Regions from separate parts of the Homo sapiens genome. Here regions 1, 2, 3 and 4 are each linked to region 5. Evidence: promoter capture Hi-C in 16 types of primary human blood cells and fetal thymus (Javierre and others, 2016). All regions are on one chromosome and are shown on one strand. The core of a region is centred on a gene start or on the middle of the fragment in contact, and the rest is flanking DNA. Distances in the headings are between cores, read along the strand shown.

Region 1 (4,169 bases), core at 315-2,814, 270 kb after region 5:
GTAGACAACAAAATTAAGGCAGAAATCAAGAAATTATTTGAAACTAATGAGAACAAAGGTAAAATATACCAGAATCTCTAGGATGTAGCTAAAGAAGTGTTGAGGAGTCTGCAACACTAAATATCCACATGAAAAAGTCAGAAAGACCTAAAATTAACAACCTAACATCACACACTTAGAACTAGAGAAACAAAAGCAAACCAACTCCAAAACTAGCAAAGAACTAATCAAAATCAGAGCTTAATGGGAGGAAATTGAGATGTGAAAAACCATACGAAAGATCAACGAATCCAGGAGTTGGTATTTGAAAAACATAAAGAGACAAATAGACCACTAGATAGACTAAGAAAAAAGAGAAGCTACAAATAAGTACAATCAGGATTGTCAAAGAGTTCATTACCAGCAACCTGACAGAAACACCAACCAAAGAAAACCCTCAGACTACTATGAACAGCTTTATGCTAGAGAATCTAGAAGAAATCAATGAATTCCTGGACACATACAACCTCTCAACATTGAATCAGGATGAAACAGAATCCCTGAACAGACCATTAAAAAGTTCTGAAATTAAATTCACAATAGAAAGCCTGCCAACTACAAAAAGTCCAGGACCAGACAGATTCATAACTAAATTCTGCAAGAGGTACAAAGAAGAGCTCATATCATTCCTACAGAAAGTATTCCAAATAATTGAGGAGAGACCCCTCCCTAACTTATTCTATAAGGCCAGCATCATCCTGATCTCAAAACCTGGCAGAGACACACACACAAAAAGAAAAACTTCAGGCCAGTATCTTTGATTAACAGATGCAAAAATCTTCAACAAAATACAAATAGAATCTAACAGCACATCAAAAAGTTTATCCACCGTGACCAAAGTAGGATTCATCCCTGGGATGCAAGGTTGGTTCAACATCACATCACATAGAATTAAAAACAAAAACCAAATGATTATCTCAATGATTCAGAAAAGGCTTTTGATAAATTTTAACTCCCATGTTAAAAACTCTCAATTAAACTAGTCATTGAAGAAATATACCTCAAAATAACAAATGCCTTCTATGAAAACTCCACAGTGATCATACTGAATGTGCAAAAGCTGGAAGCATTTCCCTTAAAAACCAGCACAAGAAAAGGATGCCCTCTCTCACCACTCCTATTCAACATAGTATTGGAAGTTCTGGCCAGAGCAATCAGCAAGAGAAGGAAATAAAAGACATCCAAATAGGAAGAAAAAAACCTCAAACTATCCCTGCTTGCAGACAACATGATACTATATCTAGTAAACCACATGGTCTCTGTCCCAAAGCTCCTTGATCTGATAAACAACTTCAGCAAAGTTTCAGGATATAAAATCAAGGTACAAAACTCAGTAGCCTTCCTATGCACTAACATTCATGCTGAGAGCCAAATCAAGAATGCAATCTCCTTCATAATAGCCACGAAAATAAAATATCTAGGAATACAGCTAACTGGAGGTGAAAGATCTCTACAATGAAAGTTACAAAACACTGCTCAAAGAAATGAGAGATGAAACAAATGGAAAAGCATTACATGCTCACGAATAGGAAGAATCAATACCATGAAAATGGTCATCCTGCCCAAGGCAATTTCCAGATTCAGTGCTATTCACATATAAAACTACCTATGGAATTCTTCACAGAATTAGAAAAAAATATTTTAAAATTCACATGGAACCAAAAAAGAGCCCAAATAGCCAAGGCAATTCTAAGCAAAAGAACAAAGCTGGAGGCATCACACTACCCAACTTTAAATCATGCAACAGAGCTACAGTAACCAAAACAGCACAGTACTGGTACAAAAACAGATATATAGACCAATGGGACAAAGTAGAGAGCCCAGAAATAATGACACACACCTAAAACCATCTGATCTTCAACAAGGTGAACAAAAACAAGCAATAGGGAAAGAACTCCGTGTTCAGTAAATGTTGCTAAAATAACTGTATAGCCGTAATGCAAAAGATTGAAACTGGACCCCTTCCTTATACTACATAGAAAAGTCAACTCAAGATTGATTAAACCCTTAACTGTAAAACCTAAAACCATAAAACATCTGGAAAATAACCTAAGAAATATCATTCTAGACATAGGACCCAGAAAAGATTTTACGGTGAAGATGGCAATAGCAAGGTCAAGCAAGGTCAACAAAAGTGAAAACTGACAAATGGGATCTAATTAGACTAAACAGCTTTTGCACAGTGGGCAAAGGATATTAACAGATACTTTTCCAAAAATGACTTACATGCAGGCAACAAGGATATAAAAAATGCTCAATATCACTAACCATTAGAGAAGTCCAAATGAAAACCACAATGAGATACCATCTCACACCTGTCAGTGTGTCTATTACTAAAAAGTAAAAAAATAACAGATACTGGTTAGGTTGCAGAGAATAGGGAATGCTTATACACTCCTGTTGGGAATGTAAATTAGTTCAGCCATTGTGAAAGTAGTTTGGCAATTTCTGAAAGAACGTAGAATTACCTTTTGACCCAAAGGAATATAAATCATTCTACCATGAAGTCACACACACACACATATGTTCTTCACAGCATCGTTCATAATAGCCAAGAAATGGAATCAACCTAAATGCACATCAATGGTAGACTGAATCAAGAAAATACTGTACATATACATCATGGAATACATGCAGCCAGAAAAAACAAGATCTTGTTTTTTGTGGCAATGTTGATGGAGCTAGAGGCCACTATACTAAGTAAACTAACACAAACAGAAAACCAAATACCACATATTTTCACTTATGAGTGGGAGCTAAACAGAGTACCTATGGACACAAAGAATAACAGACCCCCCCACCGGGCCTACTTGAGGGTGTAGGGAGGAAAGTGAGGACTGAAAACCTACCTATCAGGAACTATGCTTATCACTTGGGTGGTGAAATAATCAGTGACATGCAACTTACCTATATAACAAACCTGCACATGTACCCCTCAACCTGAAATAAAAGTTGGAAAAAAAACTTTAAAAAAGAGAGAACGTCTCAAGGACAAATGCTGTTAGAATAAAACTACCAATCCCGAATTGTAAACCCAGCTATACTATCATTCAAAAGTAAGGGTAGTTAGACAGGAGAAATAAGTTTAGATCTATTGTATAACATGATGATTACAGTTTATATCTACGTATTATATATTTATTTTCAAATTGCTAGATTTTAAATACTCCACCACTCAAAAATTATAGGATGTGAAGTAATTGATATGTTGATTAGCTTGATTTTGTCTTTCCAAAATGTGTATATATGTATATACATATTAAAACATTGGGTTGTACACCATATATACAATTGTCAATTAAAATATAAACTTAAAAATTTGAAAGAAAATGGTAATAAAAAATTAAAAGGATTAAATTAACAAAAGATATTTTCAGGCCTTTTTTGAAACATAAGTGTTTACCACTCAGTGAAGGGACTCTTATGTTTAAAGCATAAATACAGAAGAATCAAGATGTTGGGAGAAAAAACAGCAACAAAGTTTTGGAAGCTGGAAAGCCAAAGGAAACTGTTTTTGACTCAAAAATCTCAAAGCAGAACACTGAGCTGGTGAGTGGAGAAGTTCGGAAGCAAGTTGATTCCTGCTGGAAGAACTCCTAATCAGGTCTGTCTAAATATTACAGGTAACATTGAAATGGGAGGCTTGGCTAAAAGTTTGTATAAAAACTGTTATACACGCACTTTAGTTAGACAACCCTTCCTCCCCGACCTGACGCGACACTAACTTGGGAGGTGGTGGTGTACCCAAAGGGCTCTGGGATTGGAAAACAGACATTGCGTGGGTGTAAGTGGGAAGTCTGCACCCTACATTGTGAAGCACACCAGCACGTTTCCCCAACGTGGGTTCTCAGAATGCTGGCAGCCCCCAGAAAGATTTGCAGAGGAAGCAGACCATACCAAAGAAAATACCTAGGAATACTGACATTTGAGGTTTCCAAAATAAGTCATTTACATCATAGTTTAGTGACTCCTACTCGTTAAGGCTTGTCCTTATCCAGAGACTAACATTAGGAGAGAGACAGGGATTACAAAACTTGAGGAAAGCTTCTAAAATAAAAGGCAGAAATCACACAAATCAGTGAAAATAAGAAGAAATACAGTATGCAGTAATTAGAGAAACTCTTTCTATA
Region 2 (4,633 bases), core at 65-2,564, 340 kb after region 5:
AAATGATAAGCCTAAGTGCTCGTTCTTAAAAATCATTTGTTATACTCTTTCTAGATTTTGGATATTTCATATTTTTAATATTATTTATACATTAATGTCAAAGAAGCAACTGAAATACTTTTGTGTGTTATAAATTGCTTTTATATTTTATATATTTAAATTGCTTGTAAAATTCAGTGAAAAAAGCTCTCTTTTTTCCACTGTTTTCTTTGACATTATAGATTAAATAAAATACCTCACATATTAAAGTAATAATCTCAAAAAATATGATTAAACATTAATAAAAAAGTAATGGGGACTCAGGTGATTACATTCTGCATATTTTGACATCCATTATAATACTATTTAACAATGCAGAGTAACTTTTAAAACTGGGTTTTTGTTCTGACTTTTTAATAGAACTCAATGAAACAAGTAATAAAATGGTTGTTAATTGGTTTGTATTTAAAATATCTCAACCAAACAACCAAGAATTGCAGCTGTCCCATAAAACAAGGCAAAAGGTTACCCACCCTTCCAGCAGAATCAGCAGTGTACAGGAGTATACTATCTCCCGGGTTAGCTTGCTATCGGTAGATGTAAAATTCTACAAAACTGCCACGTGGCCAATTCCTTGTAATGTATTATCTAGAGAATGAGAAAATAATAATGCTCTTTCCTTGATTCTAACACTCACATTTCTGCACTGCTAAAGGAAAAGCATCATATAATTTATATATAGTTGTGTATATATAGTGCATATATAGTTCGTGTATATATATACATATAAATATACATGTATAGTATATATATACATATATATGTATAGTTGTGTATATGTATACATACATATATATGTATATATAGTTGTGTATATATTTGTGTACATATAGTGTGTATATATAGTTACTGTTTATTGAAAAGTTATTAAATTAATATTTTCCTTGAAAATTGTCTACAATTTGAAATTGAGGACATACAAAACAAATCTATAGGGATGCAAACATATTATCATTATGATATATAAGCATATATACAATACACCTATTCAAAATATTAGGCAAATTGATGTGCATTTATTAACAAAAACTTAGTAGTTAACACATTGGTTAAAAAGACACAATACATTTTCATATACATATGTGCATCATTGATAGATATAAGTTGAAAATTTTGAATATATTATTTTTAACCGTAAAGCATATTGAATTAAATATGTATAAAGATTTCCTGCTTCCAAGTCTGTCTATTTTAAATTCACACATGTGGTATGATGAGTAATAAGATTAAAAGAGACCTGAATTCTTGTCATGTTCTGACACAGCTGTTTTAAGTTGGGGAACCTACAAATACATTTTAATTTCAATTTACTGAAATGTAAAACTACACTCAACAAGATGGCCTCTGCTGCCCCACCTCTGAGAGCATTTGTATCTAATCTATATGAAGCCTTTTTACTTCAGTGTAGTTTTCTCTGAGTGGCCTGATGCTGAAGAGCTGCCCTTTATCCCACTTATATCAAGCAAAAGAGCAACACTGAGGAACAAAACCAATACACACTGCACCATGAGCTGCTTCCACTCTAGTCTCAAACTAAAAATAGATCTCTCCAAAACTGATTAAAATGATAAAAATTCAAGCAAACTGAATGCACTATTTTGTTTGCTTGTTTCATTGGAAAAAAATATGAAACATAATTACTAAGAGAACAATTAAATCACTTTAAGCAAACATGTCTTGATTTTTTTCTCATAAAAAATTTGAAATGATTGCTTACATAAATCTCATGTAGACAAATTCAATTTCCTTATTGGGTAAATATCTGAGAAATACAAGACCAGCAATACCTTGATTAAATAACATGTAGCTTCTCAATATGTATTCACTGTCTGGACCAATGATGATAAAGAAACAGTTCTGAAGTTTTCCTCTGTGTCTCACCAGAAGAAGTGACCCAATTTAACATGCAAACTCAGTGATAGAGAAAACCTGATGTATAATATATCAAGGAGACAATCTTCTCTGTTAGTTTCCCATAGAGACTGGGCCGCCACAGTCTGGAGGAGATTGGCTTCCAGAAGGAAGCCTGGGGGACGCTGGTCTCAGGAGGATGCTGCCTCCTCTGGGTTAAATTGTAAATTACCTGCTGAAACAGAAAGCAGAATATGGAGTAGGTGCCAACTGAACTCAGAGTCCGTGAGGAAGTGATGAGCATGAGATATAGAGATTTTCATTAAGAGAGTGAGGAGAGTAAACAGTGAAAAAAGTAAAGGATTTATATTTTCACATTTCATAAAATAATCTTCGATAAAGTACAAAACCCAGACATTTAAGTACTCAGAAAATAATAAATTGTTTTACTTCATCACTATGCCTAGTCAGTATGCCACATGAGAGCAGTTAAGTGCGTATACTCAGTTTACTTTGCAGTTACAGCAGCCTGTTTCTGTATTGCACATAGACTCTCAGAAAATTATTGGCTTAATGGAGACAATCATCATGCTTCTCATCTTCCTCCAAATCTATTTGTTCCACAACCAGTCACAGACCAAGAGGATGGGTAGATCTCACTAAATACGATCATTTGAAAATTAGAAGTGAATAGAAAAATCTGGCAGAAATTTAGGAGATATATATTTTATCATTTCATTTTTCAAATGAGGAAAGTGAGTCTTAATATAAAAACTTAAGACAAATTAAACTTAGCAGACTTTATTTGATCAAAGAATGATTCATTATCAGATCGCACTACAGATCAGAAGAAATTCAGAGAGCTCTGCCCAGCAGTGTGAACAAGCTTTTATGGGCCAGACATAGGAGCAAAGTAGAAAAATCACCTGCTTGCCTACAGCTAGACATCCGTCTTGTTTGAACATGGTGTTATTTAATTTTGGCAATACTATAAGGCAGTAGAAAAATATTGCACATATGTACATACATCCAGATATAGATAGACATGTAACAGAAACATTACAAATTTTTAGCCATGTGCCAGGTACAATAATACAAATCTCACTAATTTATTAAAGAATATCTGGATCTAAATTGTTTTTGGCTAATGCCACTTAAATGGCTAAAGCTTCTTACTAATATTTGTGAAAAAGATCATTAATGTTTTTTTATTTGCTCAGTTTCCAAATATCTATTTTTCTTACTTCTACTTCTGATGAGTTATCTACCCTAAACTTGCATTTTAAATAGATACCTATTAAACTCTAGAGAAGACTGTGTAGAAAATTTATATCTCAAAAGCACAGAGCTTGGACTTCCAGCTTAAATGCTTTAATTTGCCCAAACCAAGAAAGAAAGATGTAAAGACCCAGTTAGGGCAAGACAGCTAGGAAAAGCACTTTAAAGGCAAGGCTTCTGTAGATTTAAGCCAACGCTTTCTTCCTTATCAGAGTTTCCAGTGTTCTCTGTCCAGAGAGGTAGACCTTCTTACAAATGGAGATTCCCTTTAGGGATGTAAATTTCTCTTACAAAGAGTCCTCAAAATAAGCAGGTGAAAATAGTTTTTCTGCCAAAAAGTTGTATTTTGGAGATTTATTCTGCTAAATCAGTGGTTTTCCAACCCACCTTCTGTCTTTTAACTAAAATACTAAGTGGGTGGAACCCACTGAAGACTAGAACAAATATTTTGTGTGCCTGACTCACCATGGTTACTTCTAATCTTGCTCTATAATCACAGACTGGTACAACTTTTCTCTCCTGTTTTGTTTTCAAGATTGCAAGACTGAATAATATTTCCCCCCACCCACCAGAAAGAGTTTGGGGCATAGCAAAGATCATGACAACAAGAAAGAATTGGCAGAGTATGTGTTTAGCGGGAAGTTTCATAAGAGGTGTTTCAGTTGACTGCAGGGTTCCCATGGGAGAAGCAGGATTAAAGAGAGAAAACAGAAAAGACTCATTCTTACAAATGTTTTTCTAAATATGATTCAACTGTCAGTCAGATAGCTTCAGGTATGGGGACTTCCACATTTGATTTGAAACTTCCATTTTTTTTCTCTGGGGGATTGGTTGATTATTGCCCAGGGAGTGTAGCCCTTGGGGGCTTTCTCTAGTAGGTAGACAGGCCAGGTCCATCAGATGACTGGTATAGAAATGAAAAATTTCTTATGCAAAGGCCTGACTATTTAAAATACAGGTAAACTTCTTGGGACACGCGGTCCTTTACTTTTGAGGCAACTCCTCTGGGGTTCAAAATAGCTACAAGGAGGTCTTCTCAGTCCCCATAGCTGGCGTATTATAAAGGCATGCACCTCTTTGTCCTTTGTAAAAAGTCTCCCCACTGTGGCCTTTGTAACTTAAAATTACCTTTGGTCAGGTTCACTCATTTTTCTAGAAAAACACATGTTCTGGGTCCATGGTTCTTATACATAAAATATGCTGCAGTCCCACATGGAAGAGTTCTAGAGCCCTTGGATTCAAAAAACACATGATATGCTGTCTTCCAGGAACCTTACCTACCAGAGGCCTCCTACTGGACCCAGTCTGGTTTCTTTACCAGATCCATTCCAATTCTGAACCCAGTCCAGTCAACAAATTGCTCAAACAAAGTTAGAGCTCAAAACATAAATTTGCAGAGTTTGAATCCAAGAGGAAATTTACCCATAATCTTCAGTTGCAGCGTGAGAGCAATGGGCCCTAGTGG
Region 3 (4,215 bases), core at 1,072-3,571, 360 kb after region 5:
GCATTATGCAACCTAACATTATACTTATCTAATTTACTACACATTATACTTACCTAATTTACCACCCATCTGCCCAACTGGAATGAAAGCTGTACAAAGACAGGGATGTTCATCTGCTTTGTTCACTATCTTATCCCCAACACTAGAATAGGACCTGCCATATAGCATGAGCTCAAGAATATCGGTTGCACTGAAGGATGAATGCATGAAAAGGTGGATGGATGAATAAACAATGGAAAAAGAAACTTGACTTAATTAGTAGCTACATTATGAATAACCACAAGATGGAGACATTCATTAATAAAATGTTATCCCTCTGTTTTTTTGTTTGTTTATCTGCTTCTTCCTGTCTGTATTTGTGTGTCTTGTTTACCTCTGTTTCGCACTATCTGTTCATATCTGTATGGGGCATGTGTGTGTCTTTTCTTCCCTTTTTTATTTTGTGTCATTTCTTGTAGAGTTGGTTATATTTTTCTTTCTCTGTCCATGTAGTCTGCATTTGGCAATACAAAATAAAAGTCAGCACTGAAATTTATTTTGCCAAGGTTAAGGATGCATCCAGGAGACAGGTCTGTACTTATCTCCAAAGATGATTGTGAGGGCTTCAAAATTTAAAGGGGGAAAGACAGATACTGGGGAAAGAGGAAAAAATGTTTTAAAGTGTGGGTAAATAGGAGGCAAGCAGTGGCATGCTTTCGAGTCTTTGATAAGCCCTTCACTTGTGAGAAGTAGGTAGAGGAATAGTCACTTATGCATTCATCTGGCTCAATTAATCTGCATTTTTATATAATATAAACATAAGGCAGAATGTTGGGGTGATCAGACCCAACACCAGGTCACGGGAGTGAGAAAGTCTGGCAGAGTCAAAGGACTGAGAAAAAGACAGTTGGAGAAGTAAAGTGGGACCACGGGACCATCACAATTGTGGAGGCTGTGAAGGCCCGGAGCTCTGGGAGCCCAGTGCTATTTATTGGTAATCCAGCAAAGAAACAGGTGGTAAGAATGTGGAGGCTGAAAGGGCGTGTTGCATTAAGCACATGATTTACAGCTGTGATGGTTTAGCATCTGCTCTGCTACTTGAGAAAATGGAGAGCAGGTTCTTTTAACTCAAGGTACTGTTGATCCTGGGAGGGCAAGGAGCAAGGAGCAAGGAGCCAGCAAGTCTAGACACATTCCAGAGCTGCGAGCCCTGGATTCTGTCCAAGCCATGAGGGATTTTATGCCCTGGGCTTAGATTATGGTGCATCAGGGTAGCCTTCCACCCATTAGCACAGAGCTTGGTGTTCCAAAGACCACAAGGGGATTTAGACCCTGAACCCTGGACATGTTCCAGAGCTCTTTTACGTTATGTCAGATATGCAAGCCCCACCTCAGCTTCTCCCAACACTCAGCTTTTCCCAACACAGAGGAAGAAATCTGATATGCATTTGTCTCAGGTGGGCAGAAGAATGACTTTGAATTCTGCCCTTTGTCCCATACCTGTGAAGATACACTATCAATTTACATTTTCAGGCTAAAATTCAGCAGAACTATTTTAGGGTAAAGGAATTTCCTAATGTACAAATTGTGAAGGAGGTATGTAGCTTTTCTTTTCTTTTTTTTTTTTAATCTTTGAGGTTATCTTATTTAGGAATAAAATGGGAAACAAATTTCCCTGATGCAGTTCCCAGCTTGACTTTTCGCTTTTGCTTAGTGAGCCCGGAGTCCTGAGATTTATTTTCCTTTCACAGTTCCCATGTCAAAGTTGGACATGGATTTGCTGGAGTGGAGGCAAGAGGCACAGATACCAAAGGACCTTTGGGGCTGAGTGTTGGATGGGTCATCTACACAGATTTGAAAGGGGGCAGGCCTGGGGTTGGGAGAGCACCATGCTTTTGTCTTAGAGACCTGACCTCTGAGAAGGATCGTCATTGACCCGAACTGGGGTCTGCCCACCCAGCTGGTAAGACCAGATATATACACTGAGGTTTGCAGCAGTAAAAAGGAAGGCAGTTATTTGCAGAGCACCAAGCAAGGAGGACCAGGAAGCTAATGCTTAAATCCTGACCTCTGAGGTGGCTTGCAGGTAATGGTTTTTAAAAGCGGGGTAGGCCAGCGCGGTGGCTCACGCCTGTAATCCCAGCACTTTGGGAGGCCAAGGTGGGCAGATCAGCTGAGGCCGGGAGTTCAAGACCAGCCTGACCACCATGGAGATACCCCATCCTTACTAAAAATACAAAATCAGCTGGGTGTGGTGGCAGAGCCAGCTGTGGTGGCGGCGCCTGCAATCCCAGCTACTCAGGAGGAGGCTGAGGCAGGAAATCACTTGAACCTGGGAGGTGGAGGTTGCAGTGAGCAGAGATCGCACCATTGAGGCGGACGTTGCGGTGAGCCGGGGTCATATCATTGCACTCCACCCTGGGCAACAAGAGCGAAACACCATTAAAAAAAAAAGAAAAAAAAAAGCAGGGGTAAATTTCAGGAAAGCTACAGGCAAAGTTGTAAATCAATCCTGGAGGTTACACATTGGTTTTGACCTAAACGGGTGGGATATCTTGAAGTGGGGCTTACAGGTCGGGGTAGATTCTAAGATTTTCTGATTTGCAATGGTTAAAGAGTTTTGTTTAAAAATCAAACAAAAAAGAATATTAGTGCTGGCTCATGGGTATGACCTTCTCCAGGCCCCTCAGAAAGAAATTTCTAATGGCAATCACAGTTCAGTCCTTAGTTCTCCCTTATCTGAGGTCTGTGTGTCTGCAGTTCCATTTTGTGGGGCTCCAGGTTTCTGAAAACTAGCTCAGGAACATATGTTAAGATATTATCTTTAATTTCTATGGGGAGCCAAACATCTTCTGGCTCTAGTTTCTTTGGCTATTGTTTTAAACTACTATTACCTTCTTGCTTATCAAATTGTTCATTTACTTTTCTAAGCTAGCTAGGTGCCTGGAATTTTCCTTGAAGGTACTCAAGAATTTCTTTTATGTCCATGCCTGGGGGACCCAGAGACCCCTAAGAGGGGTCCCTGCTCTGTCTCAGGATCCAAGAGCCAGAGCAATGAGGAGCCAGAAATTAGCTGCGGTCATCAGCCTCTGTCTGTGGAAAGCGAAGAACAGCCTCTACCTGAGATTACGACAGGGAAAATCGTTCCTCCCTTCATCTTTAAGCCCCTCAAGCACGCTGCATTATGTTCAGTTACCTGGAGCAATGGTCTACATTATATTTCGTACTCTTTTCTGCAGGAGGCAACAGAAGATTGGTTCTGCATTTTTGTCAAATTTCTTGTAGGGCCAAGCGCAGTGTGGCTCACACCTGTTATCCCAATGCTTTGGGAAGCCGAGGCAGGAGGATCACTTGAGGCCAGGAGTTTGAGACCAGCCTGGGCAACATAGACACCCTGTCTCTACCAAAAACATAAAAATAAAAAATTAGTCAGGCATCATGGCGTGTGCCTGAAATCCTAGCTACTTGGGAGACTGAAACAGGAGGATCGTTTGAGCCCAGGAATTTGAGTTTACAGTAAGCTATGATTGTACCACTGCACCCCAGCCTAAGCAACAGAATGAGACCCTGTCTTTAAAAAAAAAAAAAATCTAGTAGGACATCATCCATAATGTTCAGAGTTCCATATAAAAAGATTCCTATAATCTCTCTCAAAAGTTTGTTCTGTTGATGATCTAAACTTGCTTTGTGTGTGCTAATTCCCTCTCAAAGACAGCCACAGCCATAAATTAGTTTCCTGGTACAGTGACCCTCCCCTTCACCCATTGTATAACACAGCTTTGTAATATTTTCCTTAGTGTAACAGTTCCAATAGTCCTCATTTATAGATACCTTTTGTTGACAAAAAATATATATTTGAAGAGATTTTATTCTGAGTCAAATGTGAGGGCCATGACTCATGATGCAACTTCAGAAGGTCCTGAGAACACGTGCCCAAGATGCGTGGGTTACAGCTTCATTTTACATATTTTAAGGAGACCTAAGACATCAATCAATACATGTGACATATACATTGGTTCAGTCCTAAATGGTGGGACAACTCAAAACGGGGCTCACGGGTCACAGGTGGCTTCAAAGATTTTCTGATTGGCCGTTGGTTGAAAGAGTTATGTTATTATCTAAAGACCTGGAATCACTAGAAAGGCGTGTCTAGGTTAACATAAGGGGTTGTGGAGACCAAGGTTCTCATTATGTACAGAAAGCCTCAAAGGTGGCTGCCCTTGGAGGCAAGAGGTG
Region 4 (4,390 bases), core at 837-3,336, 440 kb after region 5:
CCAGCATTTTGGGAGGCCAAGGCAGGCAGATCACGAGGTCAGGAGATCGAGACCGTCGTGGCTAACATGGTGAAACCCCATCTCTACTAACAATACAAAAAATTAGCTGGGCCTGGTGGCAGGCACCTGTTGTCCCAGCTACTCGGGAGGCTGAGGCAGGAGACTGGCATGAACCCGGGAGGCGGAGCTTGCAGTGAGCTGAGATCGCGCCCCTGCACTCCAGCCTGGGCGACAGAGTGAGACTCCATCTCAAAAAAAAAGAAAAAAAAATAAAATTGCTAAAAGTAGATTTCCAATGTTCTCACCACAAAGAATAAGTGTATGAGGTAATGGATATATTAATTAGCTTGATTTAGTCTTTCCACAATGTCTACCTATATCAAGCCATTGTACTCTGAGAGACTTTCTCATGTGATGCCTCAGCTGTCACTGTGGACTTCCAATTTCAGGGTTTCCTGTGGGGAGGGGCTGCCTTCTTCTACCTCCAGGTAAGACTGATCCAGGCCAGCATATAGCAGTGCTCCATGAGGTGGAAACACCAGAGACACACAGGGATGGCCCAGGACCCTGGAAGCAGAGGGCGTCAGTTCTCGGTTCAGCCCCCTGACCACAGTCTGGGGCACACCCCTCACCGAGCCAGGTGACTGCATCTGCAGCTGCATTATGCACCTTCTGCTGGCATCTTGTGCAGAGCAAACAAGAGCAAAAAAATTAAAAAAGTAAAAAAAGTAAAATAAAAAAAAGTCAATCCTCTCTGTACATATGCGTAGCTGCATTCTTGGAAAATTCAGCCCAAAAGCTATGTTGCCAGATGCTTTGCATTCGTATGTAAGACTGATTTAGGTTCTAAGCCCCAATCATTATAACTTTTGTCCACCTAGACATTCTACAGTCTGTGAAAGATTGGGACAATCTTTTGTTGTTCAGGACCATCCCCAAAGTTACAAGATGTCTAGCATCCCTATTTCCTGCCCATGAAATTGCATGAGTCACCACTGCCACTAATAATAATTGTAATCATGCTAAAACACCTCCATAAATCACCAAAACACTTCCCAGGGGATTGCACCTCCCTGTTGACAACAACTACCTGATTGTTAAAGGGTTTTGTTAATGAAAAGGTCAGTATTGACAGAAATAAAAAAGAACGCATCCATCAGCTCTGATTGGTGGATGAGACGGGAGTTAATAGCCACAGATTTCCAAAAGAACATGTCAATAATTGTACAATCATGTCTTGGTGTATCAGTCACATGGATTAGATTATGTTGCCGTAGAAACCTCCACACCCTAAGTTCCAGTGGCCTAACAATGTCTCCCCCACGCTCCATGTCTGATTGGCATTGACAGAAGCACCCTGCTCATCCTTATGACTCAGCACCTCTGACTGGTAGAGCTTTACCTTACCACATGAGTTCATTTTCACAACTGCAGTAGAAAGAGGATGAGGTGAACCTCCTAAAGTGGCTTCTAAAGCTTCCCCTAAAAAGTGGCAAATGTCACTTCTTGCCAGAGCTAGTGTCAAAGTCATTTTGCGACACACAGAGGGTGGGGAAGTGCAATCCAACATACATTCAGGAGGGGAAAGAAATAAACATTTAGTGATTAGCTCTGATGACTACTCTGATGGATTCAAACTCAGTGCCCACGTACTAACTGTGCAACAAGTGCATATTGCTCGGCCTTTGCAAATCTGTTTCCTCATCAGTAATAGTAACAAAAATCATAGTAGCTGCTGCTTATTGGTCCCTTATTGTGTGTACTAAACATTTGACATTTCACTGGGTTGACAGAAAACTTACAGGGTAAATGAGGAACATAATATATTTTAACAGCAATGTCATGAAAACTAAACAAGATAATGTATGCAAACAGTAGCTGGTGCTTGAATAATTACAACTGAGTTCAGCTCTGTGAAAGGTACGGTAAGAGGTGGGGAAGAATAGGCCAGGAGGCTCAAGAGAAGACGTCAAAGACGTAGACATAACCTTCAAGAAGGATATGGGCATTTGGGAAGATAAGACATGAGTGCAGAAAACTGTAAGATATTCTTCTTGCTGTGGCAACTCTGAGGAAGAATACAAACAGGTTGTGAGGAAGCAGAAAAGGAAGAAAGGGGACACCAAGCTAGGGTGAAGAATAAGCTGAGGTATAAAGACAGATTGAGATTCCAGGGTCTAGGGGGAGGGACCCCTATGTCACATGTGGCGAGGGCATGGAGAAGAGTTTCTGAGAGTTCTCAGTTATGTTATGCTATCTTGAGTTATCCTCCCAATGGATCTGGGTTTTCCCACATACTTGTAATCAGCTCCCGCTGGCATCAACATTAACACTTGTCTAATCCAATCCCCTCTTTTTCAGATAAGAAGTCTGAGGCTCAGCAAACATATAAAATTTGGCTGAAGCTGAATGACAATTGATCTGGGTTTCCTAGTTCTCTCTAATGCCTGTTGCTCTCACCCCCACCAACTGCCATCCCTGGCCACTGTCCCATCTCCCCAGTTCTGAGATGAATATCCAGGAGTGTGCTCTTGTATCCATGCAGGGTCTGGGAGAAGATATTAATATATCCAGAGAAACACTGACCCTCCCTGGGGAACATTATACCCTCCTGCCTCATTGATGTCAGACATGGTCAAATGACTTGCTCCCATCAGTGCAACGTGAGCGGCAGTGATGTGTGTCCCTTTGTAGCAGAAGCTTTCAGGAATAGTCTGTGGTTTGCGGTGCTCCCTTTTCACTCCACATGACAACTAGTGATTCTTCATGCAGAGTCTTCTCCACCAGCTGGGTCCCAGGTTAAGATGACACAGAGTAGAAATGCAGCTTACTCAGATAACATAAACAAGAAATAAATATTTAATGTTTTAGCTTCTGGCACCTTGGGGTCACTTGCGATAGCACCATTACCTAGCCTATCCTGACTCACATATGTGACACAGCTATTTTCTCTCACTTGCTATCGACACTGCTGGCTAAAGACCATGAAGGTTCTATGCCACAGCATGTACCTTACACAAAAGTAAAAGGTATGTTTCTACTCTCTAAATCCTCAAGACGTGGGACACAGACCAGGAGTGGAAACAGTTGAAACACAAATGTGGAATACAACTGAGCAGGTGCATTCATCAACATGGGGCACATTCAAATGTCCTAATCTTCTGGGCTGTTCATGGATAATTTTCTTCAGAAGGGTCTTTTGAGAAAGGTTAGAATGGTGAAGGGTGGCACATCCAATTTTCTCCTTCTAAAGAAAATGGCAGGAAGGAAGAGAAGCCTGGGCAGGGGCAAAGCTGTTCCTTAATCACTGTCATCCCAGGCAAGAAGTTTTATTGCTACCCACCCTTAATAACATATGGATAGACGCAGGTCAAAGAGATGAAGAGATGTGAGGGTGTTAGTCATCCAGCCCCCAGCCTGGGATCACCCACCGCTTTCACAGCCCCTAGCAGCCACCCACCCAGGATAACAGGGCCTCATGGAGTGTCTGAGGGTTCTTGCCCATGTTCACCAGGGACAGATGGTGTTTGCATGTCTTTCAAGGACAGACCTGTATCATGCAAAGGTGAAGGAGGAAATAAAGACTCTGCAAACATACTCAATCCCCATTTATGACACCCATTTATATAGCTAGCAGCTGACCAATTCATCAAAATTCTGCCCTTCCTGAACACATAAAATGGGTGCAAAATAACAGGTCAAAGCTCAAGCGGCCAGGAAGGAACCTGGATGGGAGAGAATCAGGCTGAGCATAGAGTGGTGCCCATGGTAGAGCCCATCCTAGAGAAAGGCACCAGCTGCGCAGCTCCCCGTCAGACTTCAGGTTCCTCATGGACCCATCAATATCTGCTATGCTCCTTGTAAGAACTTGTGCATAAGGGAAGTATGAACGCTTACAGTTTTCTTATGCAGATTCTAAAGCCAAAGTGCCTGAGCTCTAAGCACCTAGAACAGTATGTGGCATGACTTGTTCTGAATAAGTGTCAGCTGCTGCTGCTACGATGCTCCCACCCATCACTTCCATAGAGCTTGTAGCCAGAAGCACTGACATGTTAGGGATAGTCCAAACCTGAGACTTGAAAAATGAGTGAAATTCAGATGGGGTTAAGGGCCCCTGGTCTATGGAACTCCCTCTTCCAGGAGCCCGGAGGGAAAAGGAAGAGGCAGATGTTGTGCGTGGAGAAGCCACCAGACCAAGCATGAGGATCTCAAACCTGAGTCCCAGCTTTTCTTTGGTTTAGCTCAAGAGGTAGGAATTGAACAGCCCCAACTTGGAGGACCAGGGATGAGGTGTCATCCTGTGGCCCACATTTGCTTAGCCAGAAATGAGAAAGGGTCAAAAATTACAACACATTAGTCTGAAGATCTCAATTGGCTATTAATTGCAATT
Region 5 (4,507 bases), core at 829-3,328:
GATTATTATGTCAACCAGTGTTTTAAGTTTTATTCTAGCTTCATAATTCAGTCTCTCAAACTAATGTGTGGAGAAGTCAAGTCAGAGTAGCAAAAGTGCAAATTATTATTTGGTTTGGAAATACCAAGTTTAGTATAATTTATTAAATCAACTCAACAGATACACAGTGTGCTTCTCTTTACATAAAGCAAACAGAAAACCTTAGTTTGGAATGAGAGTGACAATATGTGTTATATTTTCATAGCAGTTTGCTGGCTTCCAAGCACTTCCACTTAACTAATCAACTCCCGTTCTTCCCTCAGCCACACACACCCTTTCTCATCCAGCATATTACCTTGTGAGTTTTTGTCAAAGCACTTAAAACTTTCTGGAATATTTTATTCTTTCTCACATGTTTAACAGTTCAGTGTCAGTCTTTTCTAATAAAATTTAAATTTCATGAGATTTAGGCACTTATTCTGTTTCATTTATTCACAAAACTCCTGTGATAGCAGCATTAGGTGTATATATTGATTGAACAATCAGTGAATCAAGGACTACGTCACTGAATGAGCCCATATTGTTTAAATTGATCACAGTAGTACACACCATGATTCTGCTTTTACAGATGGAGGGAATTTTCCTTGGGTGAAGAATGTTGCCAACTTTACATGGCTGGTAAGTGGGAGTGATACAGCCCAAGCCTCCTGTCTCCCTCTTCTACAGTGAAGGTTCTGCTGAACCTTCCATGTGATAATTTGTCCTGCTTAAAAATATTTTGGACACATACTGTATTTACCTAATACAATAATACATGAAACTTATAGATGGTAAAATTCTAATTGGATCATCAACATAAAAGTATAAGGAAAAATTATCATTAGCTCATCATCATGAAAATATGAAGCCATTCTTTTTTCCCCCTTTTTTTAAAAATTAGCCTTTATTTTAAGTGCAGAGGTACATGTGCAGGTTTGTTATATAGGTAAACTTGTGTCACGGGTGTTTGTTGTACAGATTATTTCATCACCCAGGTATTAATCCTAGTAGCCACTAGTTATTTTTCCTGATCCTGTTATTTGAAAACTGACAGAGTCATTCAACTGGGCACAGTCTCCAAGTTATCTGCTGAATGCAACTGGTACAGAATAAGCACACGAGGTGGATGACTGTGGTGAAAGAGTAGCTGTTCAATCTGGACAGGTTTTTGCTTCCTGTGAAAAGGGAATAAAATACTAACTTTCAGGATTATTGAGAGTCTTAAATTGATATGTGAATTTTATCTAGAACATGTCTGGTAGTAGTATGTGCCCTCAAAATATTCCTACATACCAATAACAATATCGATGTTTCTGAAAATAATAACAAGAGACAGTTAAGGAACATTCATGATGTCCTAGACAATTTCCTAAGGATTTTATAAATCTTATCTCATCCTGATGAAGCACTATGACAGAAAGAACATTTTTTAGAGTTCTATAAAGGAATGGAGACTAAGCCTGTAACTAAAATGCCCATTTCACACTATGATGGAGACCAGTATTTTGAAGTAGCTAACTAAAAATCAAAGCTAGGATTTTAATCACTACAAATTATTGTGTATTTCCCCTCTATCTAAAGAACCTCAAGAAACTATCCAGAACATACATTTGTTCATTCAATTCTTAAGCATATAAAGACAATATCTTCATGATGTGGGTGAACAGTTTTGTTCTCTGTATCAGAATCTGTATTGATAAATAATTAGCGATAAGTATATTTGAGTGAAATAACTTATTAAAATATTTATTTAATATCAAATATAAGTAAATAACTTTATCTGACCCATGGAGGACACTAAGTTGCATAAAATTTAATTTTGAACAACTTCTAAACAACAGAAACAACAACAAAGCATCTGCCCAATTTGAATATAAAGAATATTATGTAGGTTCATAGAGGACCACTTGAGTTGCCTTCAAAAATGTAAGGACCAACAATGTAGATTACAACTAGAAAGGGATCAAGACTACGATATTTAAGAACCATCTTTCCATCATTTGATTCTTCGTGAGTGTTCAGGATTTCTGTTTCCCAGGTCCAAGCTTCATCATCCACCGATGCCCAATTCAACCACCGTGATGGAATTTCTCCTCATGAGGTTTTCTGATGTGTGGACACTACAGATTTTACATTCTGCATCCTTCTTTATGTTGTATTTGGTAACTCTAATGGGAAACATCCTCATTGTGACCGTCACCACCTGTGACAGCAGCCTTCACATGCCCATGTACTTCTTCCTCAGGAATCTGTCTATCTTGGATGCCTGCTACATTTCTGTTACAGTCCCTACCTCATGTGTCAATTCCCTACTGGACAGCACCACCATTTCTAAGGCGGGATGTGTAGCTCAGGTCTTCCTCGTGGTTTTTTTTGTATATGTGGAGCTTCTGTTTCTCACCATTATGGCTCATGACCGCTATGTGGCTGTCTGCCAGCCACTTCACTACCCTGTGATCGTGAACTCTCGAATCTGCATCCAGATGACACTGGCCTCCCTACTCAGTGGTCTTGTCTATGCAGGCATGCACACTGGCAGCACATTCCAGCTGCCCTTCTGTCGGTCCAACGTTATTCATCAATTCTTCTGTGACATCCCCTCTCTGCTGAAGCTCTCTTGCTCTGACACCTTCAGCAATGAGGTCATGATTGTTGTCTCTGCTCTGGGGGTAGGTGGCGGCTGTTTCATCTTTATCATCAGGTCTTACATTCACATCTTTTCGACCGTGCTCGGGTTTCCAAGAGGAGCAGACAGAACAAAGGCCTTTTCCACCTGCATCCCTCACATCCTGGTGGTGTCAGTCTTCCTCAGTTCATGCTCTTCTGTGTACCTCAGGCCACCTGCGATACCTGCAGCCACCCAGGATCTGATCCTTTCTGGTTTTTATTCCATAATGCCTCCCCTCTTTAACCCTATTATTTACAGTCTTAGAAATAAGCAAATAAAGGTGGCCATCAAGAAAATCATGAAGAGAATTTTTTATTCAGAAAATGTGTAAGAAACCCGAGAGGCTCACCCTAGGCTGTTTTGTGATATTCATGTTTTCAGGAATAAGTTGTAATAATTGATTGTGGTTATTAGATAAAATTGGTGTAAATTTAATAAATAAGGCTACTAAAATGCATCATGTATCAAAATCGATATTTCCTTTCAAAAGTTTTTGAATAATTTTAATATGCCATTGGGTAAAAAAATCTGGTGTTATGAAGAAGACAATTCTAATAGTACATGTTTTCAAGTTAATGACTCACTAAAAAAAATCATAAAGCCTAAAATATTATCTTTAAAAGTATTTTGTGTTAAAGTTCTGTTCTATATTCATCCACTCTTCAACTTTTGGTAAGTCCAAAATAAAAATGGTGTCAATTAATTTTCAAAAGCCATATTTAGTATTATAGAAGAAATGAAAACATTCAGTTGTGCATTCATTCAAAGTTAAATATGAGAAATGTATGTTTTTGGAGGACCATAAGAATATGAGTGAAATGCATACTGTGAAAAGATGAGTGGATTTGTCAGGTCATAGATGAGGGGATTAGTAACACTTTACATAGCTTCCCTTTTATGTTAAAGAAAAGCTCTAGATACATCATACTTATCAGCCCACGATTTTACTAAAAATGCATTCAAGTGCTTTGGGGATACATTTATTTTATTATCTGTTTTAAGTGGCTCACACCCTATATTCCAATTTATTATCAACTTCTTCTCCATACATCCATTAAGGCCTTTGAGGAGTTAATAGTATTGTCTTGTTTTGTGATGGTGTCATGTATCTGAAAGATTTATTTTGATGGCCAATAGTAACAGCCGTTATCTGGTAGCTTATATTGCAATAATCAGTAATCCCAAATTCTTAGTAGGATAATATAACAAAGGTTTACTTCTAGTTTATAGTATCTTTCAAATTCAGATCGTAAGCAGGGCTCTCTGTACTGTATATCCTTGAAAAATAAAATGCAAGATAAGAAGCCAGTCACACTGAAACATGATTTTAAGCGTTGACCAAAAAAATGCCAGTTGGAAAAGGTGATGGGAGCACCCACCTCAAAGCCTAAGCGACTATTTCATCTTAGAGCTGAACACATCACGTTTATGAGTTCTTTTGTGAATATGGAAATAACCCAAAGTATCCCCCTGCATGCCTTACCTGACTGTTTTGGCATCTGCTGTGGAAAGAGACCCTTGAGCTCACAAGCAAATGAACAATTGATAATATTTAAAAAGCAACCCAAGTCTTCATTTTGACAATAAGAGTTAATAATGAGTAATGTAAAATATATATTTGAAATAAAGATTTGAATATACATTATGACTTCAAGGGTCATCACAATTAAAGGATAAAGCACTCAGGTGAAATGAAATCCTAATGTACATTTGAAAACAAAGGAAGTCATAAAGGAGTTTTAACTTTCAGAAAATGATATTCATTTATTTTGAGTATTGGAAGGTAAATTTCCACAGGCAGGAACTGGTTACCCAAATGAA

What was found. Contacts are between HindIII fragments. The CHiCAGO score rates a contact against its expected background, and 5 or more counts as called.
Region 1: a fragment that was not itself captured here is called in contact with the fragment with the promoter of OR14C36 in region 5 in 1 of 17 cell types (naive CD4 T cells); the score reaches 5.2 in naive CD4 T cells.
Region 2: a fragment that was not itself captured here is called in contact with the fragment with the promoter of OR14C36 in region 5 in 1 of 17 cell types (naive CD4 T cells); the score reaches 6.7 in naive CD4 T cells.
Region 3: a fragment that was not itself captured here is called in contact with the fragment with the promoter of OR14C36 in region 5 in 3 of 17 cell types (naive CD4 T cells, naive CD8 T cells and total CD4 T cells); the score reaches 7.0 in naive CD4 T cells.
Region 4: a contact is called between a fragment that was not itself captured here and the fragment with the promoter of OR14C36 in region 5, in 4 of 17 cell types (non-activated CD4 T cells, naive CD4 T cells, naive CD8 T cells and 1 more). The highest score is 7.2, in non-activated CD4 T cells.

Annotation. Positions count from the first base shown.
Region 1 is chr1:248,614,508-248,618,676 of GRCh38, forward strand. No RefSeq gene overlaps it. Among named protein-coding and RNA genes, the nearest start is that of OR2T11, 18 kb to the right of the region's middle. The HindIII fragment of the contact is 5,034 bases long and covers 1-4,081 here.
Region 2 is chr1:248,684,940-248,689,572 of GRCh38, forward strand. OR14I1 (olfactory receptor family 14 subfamily I member 1) reads right to left here. Exons shown (of 5, transcript NM_001004734.4): 4 at 513-627. Among named protein-coding and RNA genes, the nearest start is that of OR14I1, 16 kb to the right of the region's middle. RefSeq lists enhancers at 1,849-2,048, 3,667-3,716. The HindIII fragment of the contact is 2,919 bases long and covers 1-2,774 here.
Region 3 is chr1:248,703,560-248,707,774 of GRCh38, forward strand. No RefSeq gene overlaps it. Among named protein-coding and RNA genes, the nearest start is that of OR14I1, 2.9 kb to the left of the region's middle. The HindIII fragment of the contact is 9,630 bases long and covers 1-4,215 here.
Region 4 is chr1:248,784,920-248,789,309 of GRCh38, forward strand. No RefSeq gene overlaps it. Among named protein-coding and RNA genes, the nearest start is that of LYPD8, 31 kb to the left of the region's middle. The HindIII fragment of the contact is 1,224 bases long and covers 1,475-2,698 here.
Region 5 is chr1:248,346,697-248,351,203 of GRCh38, forward strand. It overlaps OR14C36 (olfactory receptor family 14 subfamily C member 36), which reads left to right and starts at 2,079. Exons shown (of 1, transcript NM_001001918.1): 1 at 2,079-3,017. The coding sequence starts at 2,079. The coding sequence ends at 3,017. The HindIII fragment of the contact is 2,948 bases long and covers 2,062-4,507 here.